3 separate regions of the Homo sapiens genome follow, and regions 1 and 2 are each linked to region 3. Evidence: promoter capture Hi-C in human tissues and cell types (Jung and others, 2019). All regions are on one chromosome and are shown on one strand. The core of a region is centred on a gene start or on the middle of the fragment in contact, and the rest is flanking DNA. Distances in the headings are between cores, read along the strand shown.

Region 1 (3,887 bases), core at 360-2,859, 350 kb after region 3:
AGGGACTTCACTCTTACAGTTTTTATTTTCCTTACATTAGAGGTTATCAAACAGCAGATTCATCTACTGCTCAACTTATTTAAGTTATTAAAATTTGACACAAATTTTTAGAAGTCCAAACATGTACTTTAAAAAGAAAGCCATGGAGACACTAAGATTGTTTGATAGGATGGCAGGTGGAGCATGACATAGAAAAATTGGCAAACCACAACTTTGCAGTACCTAGCACACCTAACTGGGCACAAACTGGAATGCGGTGTTCAATTGGTAACTTGTTTGTGACAGTCCTGGTTGTTTTACTTTCTAAATATAATTTATTAATTGTCTTGCAAAAAAAAAAAACTTCTGTTAACTTAGTTTTTTCCTTCAAAATGAAAGGAGAAACAAAAATTTCCAACTAAACCTTGCTTGAAAGGCTTTGTGGAGGAGGCCAATATAGTCTATGATGCTAAATAGAATAATTGGTAACAGATGGCCAGCTAAGCTCTACCAGCTGTAATCGTAAAGACAAAGAGAACTTTCATGGTCAAGATTAGGGTCTTGAGCATACTTTTGATGTGAATGGAAGCTTTGTGAGGCTATGAAATAAGAATACAGTGGAATACCATACCAACAGAATGATCCTAAATGCTGAGAAAACTAAAAACTACACTCATTTTTTAATTTAAAAAAGTACCTTATATTCCTTATAATAAATCCTTCCTTTATTTTCTACTTTTTATTTATAGATGAAAGAATTTACATAATTAGGGAGAAGAACCACTTTCTTTACTAATTATAAGGTGATTGATGGCCAGAGTTAAAGCAAAATTATCTGGGGAAGCATAATTTGTTCTTAAAGTAATGACATGTGGTGTGTAGATTATTCTGTAATGTTTCCTTGGAAAGAGTAAATTACTTCATAAGTTTATTTTGATGCAATATTTACTTCTGAAAGCCATGTTATGGATGATGAAGTTAAAGATTAAAATTGATAGATACTTGATTTACCAAATTACATAATCACAGAGTTGGAAGAAATTTTTAAAAAGTACTTTAAGTACATTAAAAAAATGTACCTGATGGTATCTAATGTACCATCAGACAGATGGATGTTTACTCCATGTTTTCAGATACAGTAGAAGTATCTGTAAGGACTTTGAAGTTTTCCAGTATCTGACAAGAGCTGTGGTTTCAGTGTTACTAGTATTTATGCTGCAACTATCCCTGAATTTGATATTTCTTCCTCCCACACTTAGTATTGATGTGGGAGAAAGTCAAAAGGAAAAATGGCTGTGCTTATCTTCCTATTAAAGATAGTGCTCTATCTCTTTCCTTCAGTTTATTGAAACTCTTTTTAGAGTATAATATATATAACCACAATATATATTGTGGTTCCTTGAAATGTCATAATATTAAATAATAGCAGCAAATAGTCACATAGAGCTTGTGTCAGGTGGTGGTATCAGTACTTTAAATATGGTAACTCACAGGATCCTCATGCCAACTCTCTGAAATAGGCACTATCATAATCTCCATTTTACAGATGAGGCACTAAGGCAGAGGTAGAGTAAAGAACTGGCCCAGGTTGGCACAGCTAGCAAGGATGTGGCAGGATGCAAACCCAGGCAGTTCTGCTCCACAGTTAACTATGCTGCATCCTACTCAAGTTTTCCTCTATCTCTAAATTCTCCTGTCTAGTAATTTTTTTTCAGTTCTTCTGTTGCTTACGGTCTTGGTATTTCTTCAAACTGTTGATTCTACTTTTTGGATACCCCATTGGCTTCTGTGACTGGGAAGTCTGGTTCTCCTGTTTGTCTGTTTTCTTGAGTGGATTTTGTTATGCTGCTTACATTTTTGTGCCCTATTTTTGTATGTTAAGCCTCTGTCCTCATTCTTATTTATTTTTTTCTACTCTTATTCCTTTGGAAATCTTTTCATCAATCACAGCTTTATTTTAATGGTTCTCATGTATCAGTCACCATTTCCAACCTCTGCCTGGGCTATTTGCTGCATATATCTTTTCTGAAATATTTCATAGATACTTTAAAGACCACAGGGCCCTGAACCAATTATCCCCACCATGCTTTGCTGCCTCCCAGATCTGCCCCTCACCCTGTCTATATCTCACTTCACTTAATGGTACCACCTTCCTTCCACCCATTTGGACTAGGCATTATGGAAGCTCTCCTCAAAAGTTCTGTTCCCCATTACTTCCTGGAGACTGTCAGTCATAAGGAATTCTAGAGAGCAGTAACAGTTTTAGAAAGGGGTAGGGATGTGCATGTTCTTGGCATGTTAGTGGAATGGTGAGTAACCTGGAGAGTTAAAGGATAAAGCAAGGAAAGAAGGGATTGGAAGAGGTTGATTAGTTAAAGTTTATATTTGGTGTTATTTGGTGACCTTTGAAGGGAAGTGTTTGTTCTGAGAGGCCAACGTGTCATTGGCTTTTCATCAATAGGCTTCTTGTCTTTAAGGCCACCTAACCTTGGTAAATATATTTAAGTGAGACAGGATATTCAGTTTTCATTCCCACAGCTCCAAGACCTCAGCATTATCAGTACTTCTAGACACATCACGATCTCAGAGATGAACTGACACCAGTCACAACACCATCGGTCAGTCATGGAAACTAGAAGCAGAAATTAAAGCTCTGGGAGGAAGGCATTCCTTTCTGGTGATTCTTGGGAAGCCAGTCCAGTCACCAGAGTACCTCGTGAGTCTGAAGAGAGAGGAAGGATAGAAGAAGGTAGGCTGGAAGTGAGGAGGGTGATTCCCTGTGACTCCCTTCCCTACAAGAGCTGATGAGTTGCCACTTCCTCTGAAACAGTCTGGTGAACAGCACCCACCTCTCCTGCACCATGTCAAACACACCTGCCAGAGGCTCCTTTTGACTTCTGTTCCATACCTTCATCCTGGCCATCTCCTTTCAGGCACACACGCTTAGGTAGGTTAATATTATTGGTAAGCTAGGGACAAGGAGACAAATTTTTGGGATATGAGAAGTGCTCCATTTCCTCTTATTATAAGACCAAGCCTTTCCTCAATTTAGGGAGGTGGGATTTAGGCAAATCAATGAAGTTTTATTGAGTCAGAATAGGCAAGAACTTTATCTTGAACAGAGAATCTATACTCTTCAATGAGGTCCATGGCTTGACCTTAGCAGAGGCCTCCAGCTGAGGGTACGGCGCAGATTTTGCAGGTGTCAGATGTAACAGTGCAGTCTGGGGAGAGCCATAAGTATCTGGGGATTTGAACAAGGGAAGGGGGGAAAGAACCTGGTCAGGGGACGCTCTGGTTTCTCTTTCCTTTTTATTCATTAAATAGGAGGACAAATCATATAAGCTAGACAGGAAGGGAGAGATTTTCTTTTCCTCCTACTTGGCTGAGACAAAGGAAAAAGGAATGACCCAGGGGAACGGTCCTGTGAAATCCTCTTTAGACACTTAGATACTGGGCAAGATTTGAAAGTTTCCTGGGCTTTTCTACTTCAAGATTGTTGCTTTTTATTTTGGTTGAACTGGAGTAAGAAAATGTGTTTTCTGAAAATGCTCAACCTATCAGTTCTTTGCATGTTACTTTATTTTATTTTATTTTTTAAGGAAGCTGACTTGCTAGAAAATTGAACAAGTCTCTCCACCTCACCAAACAGACAAAAAAAAGTAGACGTCATAGGTTGGTGCCCTCTGAGTGGTTTTTGCTGCCCTTGAATGCTTTAGGGGCTTACGTCATGAAGGTGGAAGACAGATCATACCTCTGTTATGGAAAATATTTTGATGTATTATTTCTTTTTGCTTTATTTTCTCTTTGTTTTGGTTTCTTCACTATGGTTATTTTACACTTAGTCTGTTTTCTAAATTAAGACTTGGCAATTTGTCAAGGAAAAGAAACCATAAACTGCTAAAGAA
Region 2 (3,670 bases), core at 143-2,642, 300 kb before region 3:
TTGTTTGTTTTTACTGTTGACTTTTGAGAATTCTTTATATATTCTGAATACTCATCCTTTGTTGGATATGTGGTTTGCAAATATTTTCTCCCAGTCTGTGACTTCAATGCTATTATTTTTGAAATTACATTTTTTCAGTTGTTCATTCCTAGTATGTGGATATACTACTCATTTTTATATAGTAATTTTATATCCTGTGATTTTGTTAAATCTGCATACTATTTCTGGTAACTTTTTTGCAGATTCCTTAAGATTCTCTACATGTTTTTTTACAAGTAAAAACATTTCTTTTTTAGAAAATACTTCTTGCCTTTTTCCCTTGGCTGGATAGGATATTTTCCTTGCACTAGATAGGATATCCAGTACAATGTTGATGAGTTGCTGAGAGTAGACCAATTTGCCTGGATCACAATCTTAGAGGGAAAGCATTCAGTCTATTACCATGTTAGCTGTGGTTATTTTGTAGATACCCTTTATCAAGTTGAGAAAATTCCCTTCTATTCCTAACTTAGACTTTTTTTTTTTCTATCATGAATCGATACTGGATTTTTGTCAAGTGATCTTTCTGTGTTTATTTGAAGTATAATATATTTTTTCTCTGTTACAACAGTGGTTGCTTTTCCAGTGTTGTGCCAGCATTGTCCCTGGGTTAAACCTCAGTTGGTCATAATGTATTACTTTTTTATATATTGTTGGATTTGAATAGCTAATACTTGTAATATCTCTGGATATTTGGATGAGATATTTGTAATATCTCTTATACATATATTCATAAGTTATATGCCATGCCAATTTAACTTTTTGATGTATTTCTTATTTAACAAGTGTATTTTTTTTTTCCAATTCTTTATGGAAGAAGAGTCGAATATTTGGGACCAAGTGTTTTTGGTACTTGAGGTATCATTTTGTTTATCTTAGATACTTCCTGGACATACTCTAATTATTGGAAGTTGAATTTCTAAAATATTTTAAAACAGCTTTTTATATTTATAATATAAATGTTGATCTTGAAATTGTAGTTGCTGTCTGATGAATAAAATATTGGGCATAAAAGAGAAACTGTTTAGTCTTAACAAATTACCAATCACATGATTTTTAGCCTTTATCAATACTGATAGGTGAGAGAGAGCTTAGGGAAGCATCTACAGTTTACTTGGCATTACTGTTACTTGAATGAGAATGAAATGAGCTGATGAAAATTAAGTGTTTTTTTGGGAGGCCCTCATTTCTGTGTAAACTTCTATATCTACTTTTAAAAGCATTCAAAATGCAATCTAATGTTTGTAGTAGGTCATTGAGACTCTACAGTGTGTCTAGAGTCTCTTAGGAAGTCGTAAAATGAATTTCCTTTGATACAGAACTCTAAGAGTTAAGCTTTGTTGAGTCTATTCCTGTCATGGCGATACAAGAATATTTCTAAGTTTTTTGCCCATCCTTTTCCAGCCCTTGTCAGATTGGTTGGTTATTGCTGCATTGCTCAAAAAATAGTGAGGTATAGAAAAGGGGACTAGAAGTTGGGTCCATAGACTTAGACTGTCTCTGCTGTGTCACATAATGTGTCTTCTGCAAGTCAGTTAGTGTGTCTAATCTTTACTTTTATGTAAAATGGGACTTGATGATAGAAAAGAGTGTGAAATGGAAATATTCTGTTTTGTATTTCAGTCTGAAAACTTAGAGAATACAGTAATCATACCAGATATCAAACTACATAGCAATCCTTCTGCTTTCAATATTTACTGTAATGTACGCCATTGCGTTCTGGAATGGCAGAAAAAGGAAATATCATTGGCAGCCGCATCTAAGAACTCTGTGCAGAGTGGAGAATCAGATAGTGATGAAGAAGAGGAATCCAAAGAGCCCCCTATCAAGCTTCCAAAGGTAAGCCACTGAGTTCTATTAATATTTAGATGTGTAACCTGCAGGTGTTCTGGCTATAATGCATATATACGCATTGCTAAAATACTTTGCTTTATGTAAAATTGCACACTAAAAATAACACGGCTTATGGGCAAAAATAGATTTGGAGCAGAAAAGGAAAACTCTGCAACTTTATAACTAAGGTGCTAACAAAGTCAATAATTGATAATTCACTGGAAAGCGCAGGAAGGGAGATCAGTGGGTTGGAGTCTGTTATAGGGGCAATTAAAAAATGTACAAAAGCAGTAGGGTGGAAATGCTAGTATAGAGGCATTGAGCCATGGCAGATGGAAGTAGAGCTCTGAGCCAGTGAGCCGAGAGTAAGGTGGGCACAAGAGAAAGCCAAGAGCCCTGGAAAGCTGGGAGGTGCTCCTCACCTGGGATGCAGGTATGCGTTTTTATTTTTCTTGAAATAGAACTACAAAGCCTCTCAGCTGTGTAGTAGCAGGGCTGAGAGCCTTTTCCTTTCTGCCTAAGCTTATAATTGTACTCTTGATATTGTGGTTTCCCTTGATTAGGAAAAAAAAAAATCACCTATGAACCAACTGAACTTCTGCATTATTCTGATATTACTCCCTTATTTACCAGGAGCATATAAACTAGTTGGTATTTCTATAATAGAAGCATGTATTGTAGGCCGGGCGCAGTGGCTCTCACACCTGTAATCCCAGCACTTTGGGAGGCCAAGGCGGGTGGATCACCTGAGGTCAGGAGTTTGAGAACAGCCTGGCCAACATGGTGAAACCCTGTCTCTACTAAAAATACAAAAATTAGCCCGGCATTGTGGCAGTCGCCTATAATCCCAGCTACTCAGAGGCTGAGGCAGGAAAATTGCTTGAACCCAGGAGGCGGAGGTTGCAGTGAGCCGAGATCATGCCATTGCACTCCGGCCTGGGTGACAGAGTGAGACTGTCTCAAAAAAAAAAAAAGAAACTGGCTGGGCGTAATGGCTCACGCCTGTAATCCCAGCTCTTTGGGAGGCCAAGGCGGGCGGATCACGAGGTCAGGAGATCGAGACCATCCTGGCTAACACGGTGAAACCCCGTCTGTACTAAAAACACAAAAAAAACTTAGCCCGTCACGGTGGCGGGCGCCTGTAGTCCCAGCTACTCGGGAGGCTGAGGCAGGAGAATGGCGTGAACCCGGGAGGCGGAGCTTGCAGTGAGCCGAGATGGCGCCACTGCACTCCAGCCTGGACAACAGAGCTAGACTCCATTTACCAAAACAAAAAACCTGTATTATAGAACTACTCTCAGTTTACTCTGTTCTGTTTAAGTATTGGTATATTTAAGACTGGAAGGTCTATATATATATATATATATATATATATATTTTTTTTTTTTTTTTTTTTTTTTTTTTTTTTTTTGAGACGGAGTCTAGCTCTGTTGCCCAGGCTGGAGTGCAGTGGTGCCATCTCGGCTCACTGCAAGCTCCGCCTCCCAGGTTCAGGCCATTCTCCTGCCTCAGCCTCCCAAGTAGCTGGGACTACAGGCACCTGCCACCGCGCCCGGCTAATTTTTTTTTGTATTTTTAGTAGAGACGGGGTTTCACCGTGTTAGCCGGGATGGTCTCGATCTCCTGACCTCGTGATCCGCCTGCCTCGGCCTCCCAACGTGCTGGGATTACAGGCGTGAGCCACTGCACCCAGCCTGTTATATATATTTTTTCTATATAGTAGATATAGTTAATATTTACAACAAAAGAATAGGTGAAAATATAGACATTTTTAAATGGTGCCTTTATATGACTTATG
Region 3 (3,857 bases), core at 416-2,915:
CTGCTACTTGGGTACAGTGTTTTATAGGCACTTACCTGGTTTAAACAAATACATAATCACATGGAGATTTCACTGACACAGCAAAATCTATTTTAGTTCAAAGGTAATTTAAGTGTGAACTTAATAAACTTAAATATTATATTCAATTGAGGGAATTAGATGGGAGCACGTACTTAATATCTGAGACTTAAAAAAAAAATCCACTAAAAAGCCATAGTCAACACCTTGCCCTAATGTTAAATCAAATCGTTTGGATTTACAATTCTTGTTCTATTGAGTAATTTTGACTTCTTACAAACATTTTATTATTAACATTTTCCAGAAAACTAGCTTCAACCACAAACTTCTCTTTCCACGTAGTATATCACACAAAACAAAAAAGTGTTGTAAACATTTCAGTGAGCAGAATACACTATCTAGGTTTGACAACAGCTGGCATTTTACTAGATTTAATCCTTCCAGCAAACCTATGAGGTACGTGCTACCACTATTCCTATTTTTTGACTCAGGGCATGTGGGCACAGAGATTCTGAGTAACTTTCCCAAGATCCCTGGTGATGACAGAGCCAGATTTGACCCGCAGCAGGCAGAACTCCTTCCCACTCATACTGTCATACAAAATAGCTGTTTTTTTCAGGTTTGTTGTGTGCAGTTTTAGCTGTTGATTACTTATGCTAGTAAGTTAAAATTATGTCCAATGATGCTTTTGGTTTAAAGAAAAATAGCTGTTTTCAAAAACTGCTGGTCTTTCTCCTGCCTGATGTTGACACCATGTTTTCTTTCTCTGTGTTTAGCTATCTCTGACCGCCGGAGGCTGTGTCTTCTCTGTCAAAGGCTGGAATCGACCTCCCAGGTGTGCGGGCTCTGTCCCCGACTTAGGACCGGCGTCCTACCTCCAGGCTGAAGACTGGACAAAAGCGGTGACAATCTTCCCGGTCTAACCAGGACTGCAGGAGACGGGGATTCCCGGGATGCGCGACTTTTGAGGGCAAAACTGGGAAGTCCCAATAAGGACTTCGGATCAGGTTCTGATCAGGTTCAAACCAGAGCGAGTTGGTCGCCCAGTAAATTGTACCAAATGTTCCGCGGTAATAACTAACGACAGTGCATGATATAAATAAATGCGATAGACAGTGTTTTTAAACTACTCAAGAAATCAGCTACTTGTACCCAGAAGTCCCTCCATTAAATAACATTACTCTCCTTTTCTTCTTCCACGATTCAGGACTGTCCTGAGTCTGCCGCAAGTGACCAGAGGGGACGAAAGGTCCCAGGGCTGCACGTAACGAGCGGCTGCGACTCCCCAGTCCTCAACTTTGCTCTCAAGTGCGCTCCGAGCGTCACCCGGCGCTGTCCCCGCACCATCTCGTGACCCGACACAAACCACGGTGAGCAGGGGTCCCCGCCCCAGCACCCCATCCCCCATCGTCAACGCCGACCCCAACCCCGACAGTGCGCGCGCCGCCGCACTCACTTGTAGGGCACCGGCCAGTGGCGCCGGGAGGGGATGCCCGAGACCCGGGACCAGCCCGGAACCACCGCGAGCCAAAGCAGCGCCAGGGCCCAGCACCAGGAAGCGCGTCCCCGAGCCGCGCCCGCGCCCCGCCGCATCTCGGCGCCCTGTGCCGTGTCTACCTCCTGCGCCATCAGGCTGCACCCAGTACTTCCGGAGCCTCTCGAGGCCTGCGACGCCGGTGGGAGGAGCATGCGCGGAGCCGCCAGTCCGGGACGCGGGGCGCCTTGCCCCTGCGCGTCAGCTCCAGAGCTTGGCCCCAAGCGCAGGTTCCGGCGCATGACACCTCCCCGCGCCCGGCCCGCGGCGGCTTCCACACTTTGCAGTCCAGGAAGGTGCTTTGGTCTGGCTCCCAGGAGAATTCGATCCAGACCTGGGGCGTCATCTTTTATGAATTGACCTGTCCTTGCCCAAAAGCCACCACCAAAACCAAAAATCTGTCACCGGGGCTCCTCCCAACACCGAACTTTTACCCCATCCCACAGGGCCCACGCTAGGTGTCAACAAACGTTGAGTGAACGAGAATGTGTATTTGGAGCTGAGGGTGCAGGGCTGGGGGTGCAGTGAGGAAGAAGGGACAATAGTGCGGAAATGGCTCGTCGTCACCCGACCTGGGCCAGTCATAACAGTGGTTAACACTGACAATATGTGGTCCCTGCCACTCCCCAAGTGCTTAGTGGGGAAATGACTCGTCCTCACTCGACCTGGGCCAGTGATAACAGTGGTTAACACCGACAATATGTGGTCCCTGCCACTACCCGAGTGCTGCCGAATCTACCCCCTCCCCTACCGCTCCCCTCACAGGCAGGTGTTCCTTGCTTGGATCTGTCACTTCACTGGAAAGAAGTTTCTGCATCACCTTCTCTTCTTTGACTCTTCAACTAGGTCAAGAAAACAATGGCATCAATTACCCGGCTTTTGAGGAGCCTCTTGTGGCATGCTTTGCTGTTAGGCACAAATACTGACTTAAGTCTATACGTAGTACATTCAGGGCCTTGCCATAGTCACTTGTTTTTACCAGACAGCAGTTTTGCAGGGCCTTAGACCGGGACTTTCCAATTCCTTCACTTCACCCACAACTCGTGTGAAGCATCATAATGTTTGTAAGCCTATGGGAATAAGCAAGGTGGCTTCGGTAGCCGGAGATGACCACCACAATCCATTGGAGGATATGTAGCTTGTGGGGGTGTCACTGACTTCCTTGGGCCCTCCAGGTCTCTTGATTACATATGGGACTCAGTACCCTGCCCCAAACACACACTCCTTTGCCCACTTGCTGCTCCAGGTTTGGGGGTTTTGCGGAGGTTCAGGCTGGGCTGCATTTTACCATACGTTTGTCTAAGCGTTTTGATAGCTACCTAGCTCTCCTCCGTATACTATGGCCAAATTCAAAATTACCAAGGCTAAACTGGCTTCTTCAAAGACCTGCCCAAGATAAGAGGGGGAAGCATTCTAGCCCTGAGAGCTGAAATGTAATGTCTGATTTGAAGGGCACCTGAAGGATTCCGTGGCCCCACACTTGAGCCTAGCTTAAAAAGCAATCAGCAGGAACAGCTTTAAAAAAAAAAAAAAACATTGATTAGAGCATTTACAAATCCTGGAACCATACACAGTATGATGTATGAGGGCCACAGTAGATGGCCTCAACAACCAGAGCCTCCGTGGCTGCCTGGAGAGCGGTGATGCAGGCAGCAGCTTCATGAGATATTTGCAGTTTAATCCAGTCATCTGCAAGCACAATCTGCCCATCAGATTGGACTTTCTTGGAGGCAAAGAGAAGCAACTGCAGTGGGGTGACTAAAGTCATGCCTTTAGCAGAGATGGCTCGAGTTCAAATCTTTTCACCAAATACAAAGAAGGGAGATAGGTACTTCATGTCTTGGCTACTAAAAGGACAATTAACAGTAGATGGTTCCAGGTTCCATCTACTGTTAGTAGAGGGCCACAGTAGAACCTCCCATTCAGTTCAGGACTTCCCAGAGCTACAAAAACAAATTCAGGTTGACCTTGTTCAGTGGTGGAGGCCTCTGGTCTTGCTTCTGCCATCTGTCTCTTCATTCTGTGTGCAGGGAGCTTTCATGGTAAGAAAGCACTTCCTAGTATTGGTTTTTATTTTTTATTTTTTTGGAGACGGAGTCTCCTTCTGTCACCCAGCCTGGAGTGCAGTGATGTGATTTCGGCTCACTGCAACCTCCGCCTCCCGGGTTCAAGCAATTCTCCTGCCTCAGCCTCCCTAGTGGCTGGGTACAAGTGTGTGCCAGTTGTAATTTTTTTTTTTTTTTTTGGTAGAGACGAGGTTTCACCATGTTGGCCAGGCTGGTCTCGAACTCCTGACCTCAAGTAA

The links. The method cuts DNA at HindIII sites, captures the fragments that hold promoters and counts their contacts. A contact is called where the count stands out against the background at its distance.
Region 1: a contact is called between a fragment that was not itself captured here and the fragment with the promoter of CLN5 in region 3, in 1 of the 25 tissues and cell types used here (mesenchymal stem cells).
Region 2: a contact is called between a fragment that was not itself captured here and the fragment with the promoter of CLN5 in region 3, in 2 of the 25 tissues and cell types used here (dorsolateral prefrontal cortex and lymphoblastoid cells).

Annotation. Positions count from the first base shown.
Region 1 is chr13:76,637,859-76,641,745 of GRCh38, reverse strand. No RefSeq gene overlaps it. Among named protein-coding and RNA genes, the nearest start is that of KCTD12, 250 kb to the left of the region's middle. The HindIII fragment of the contact is 9,343 bases long and covers 1-3,887 here.
Region 2 is chr13:77,286,369-77,290,038 of GRCh38, reverse strand. MYCBP2 (MYC binding protein 2) reads left to right here. Exons shown (of 83, transcript NM_015057.5): 3 at 1,663-1,878. All of the region lies in intron 2 of LOC124903184 (a long non-coding RNA gene), which reads right to left. Among named protein-coding and RNA genes, the nearest start is that of MYCBP2, 39 kb to the left of the region's middle. The HindIII fragment of the contact is 3,391 bases long and covers 1-3,087 here.
Region 3 is chr13:76,989,889-76,993,745 of GRCh38, reverse strand. CLN5 (CLN5 lysosomal BMP synthase) reads right to left here and starts at 1,665. Exons shown (of 4, transcript NM_006493.4): 1 at 1,475-1,665. The coding sequence starts at 1,647. RefSeq lists an enhancer at 161-1,360 and silencers at 1,382-1,621, 2,082-2,151, 2,242-2,331. The HindIII fragment of the contact is 12,191 bases long and covers 1-3,857 here.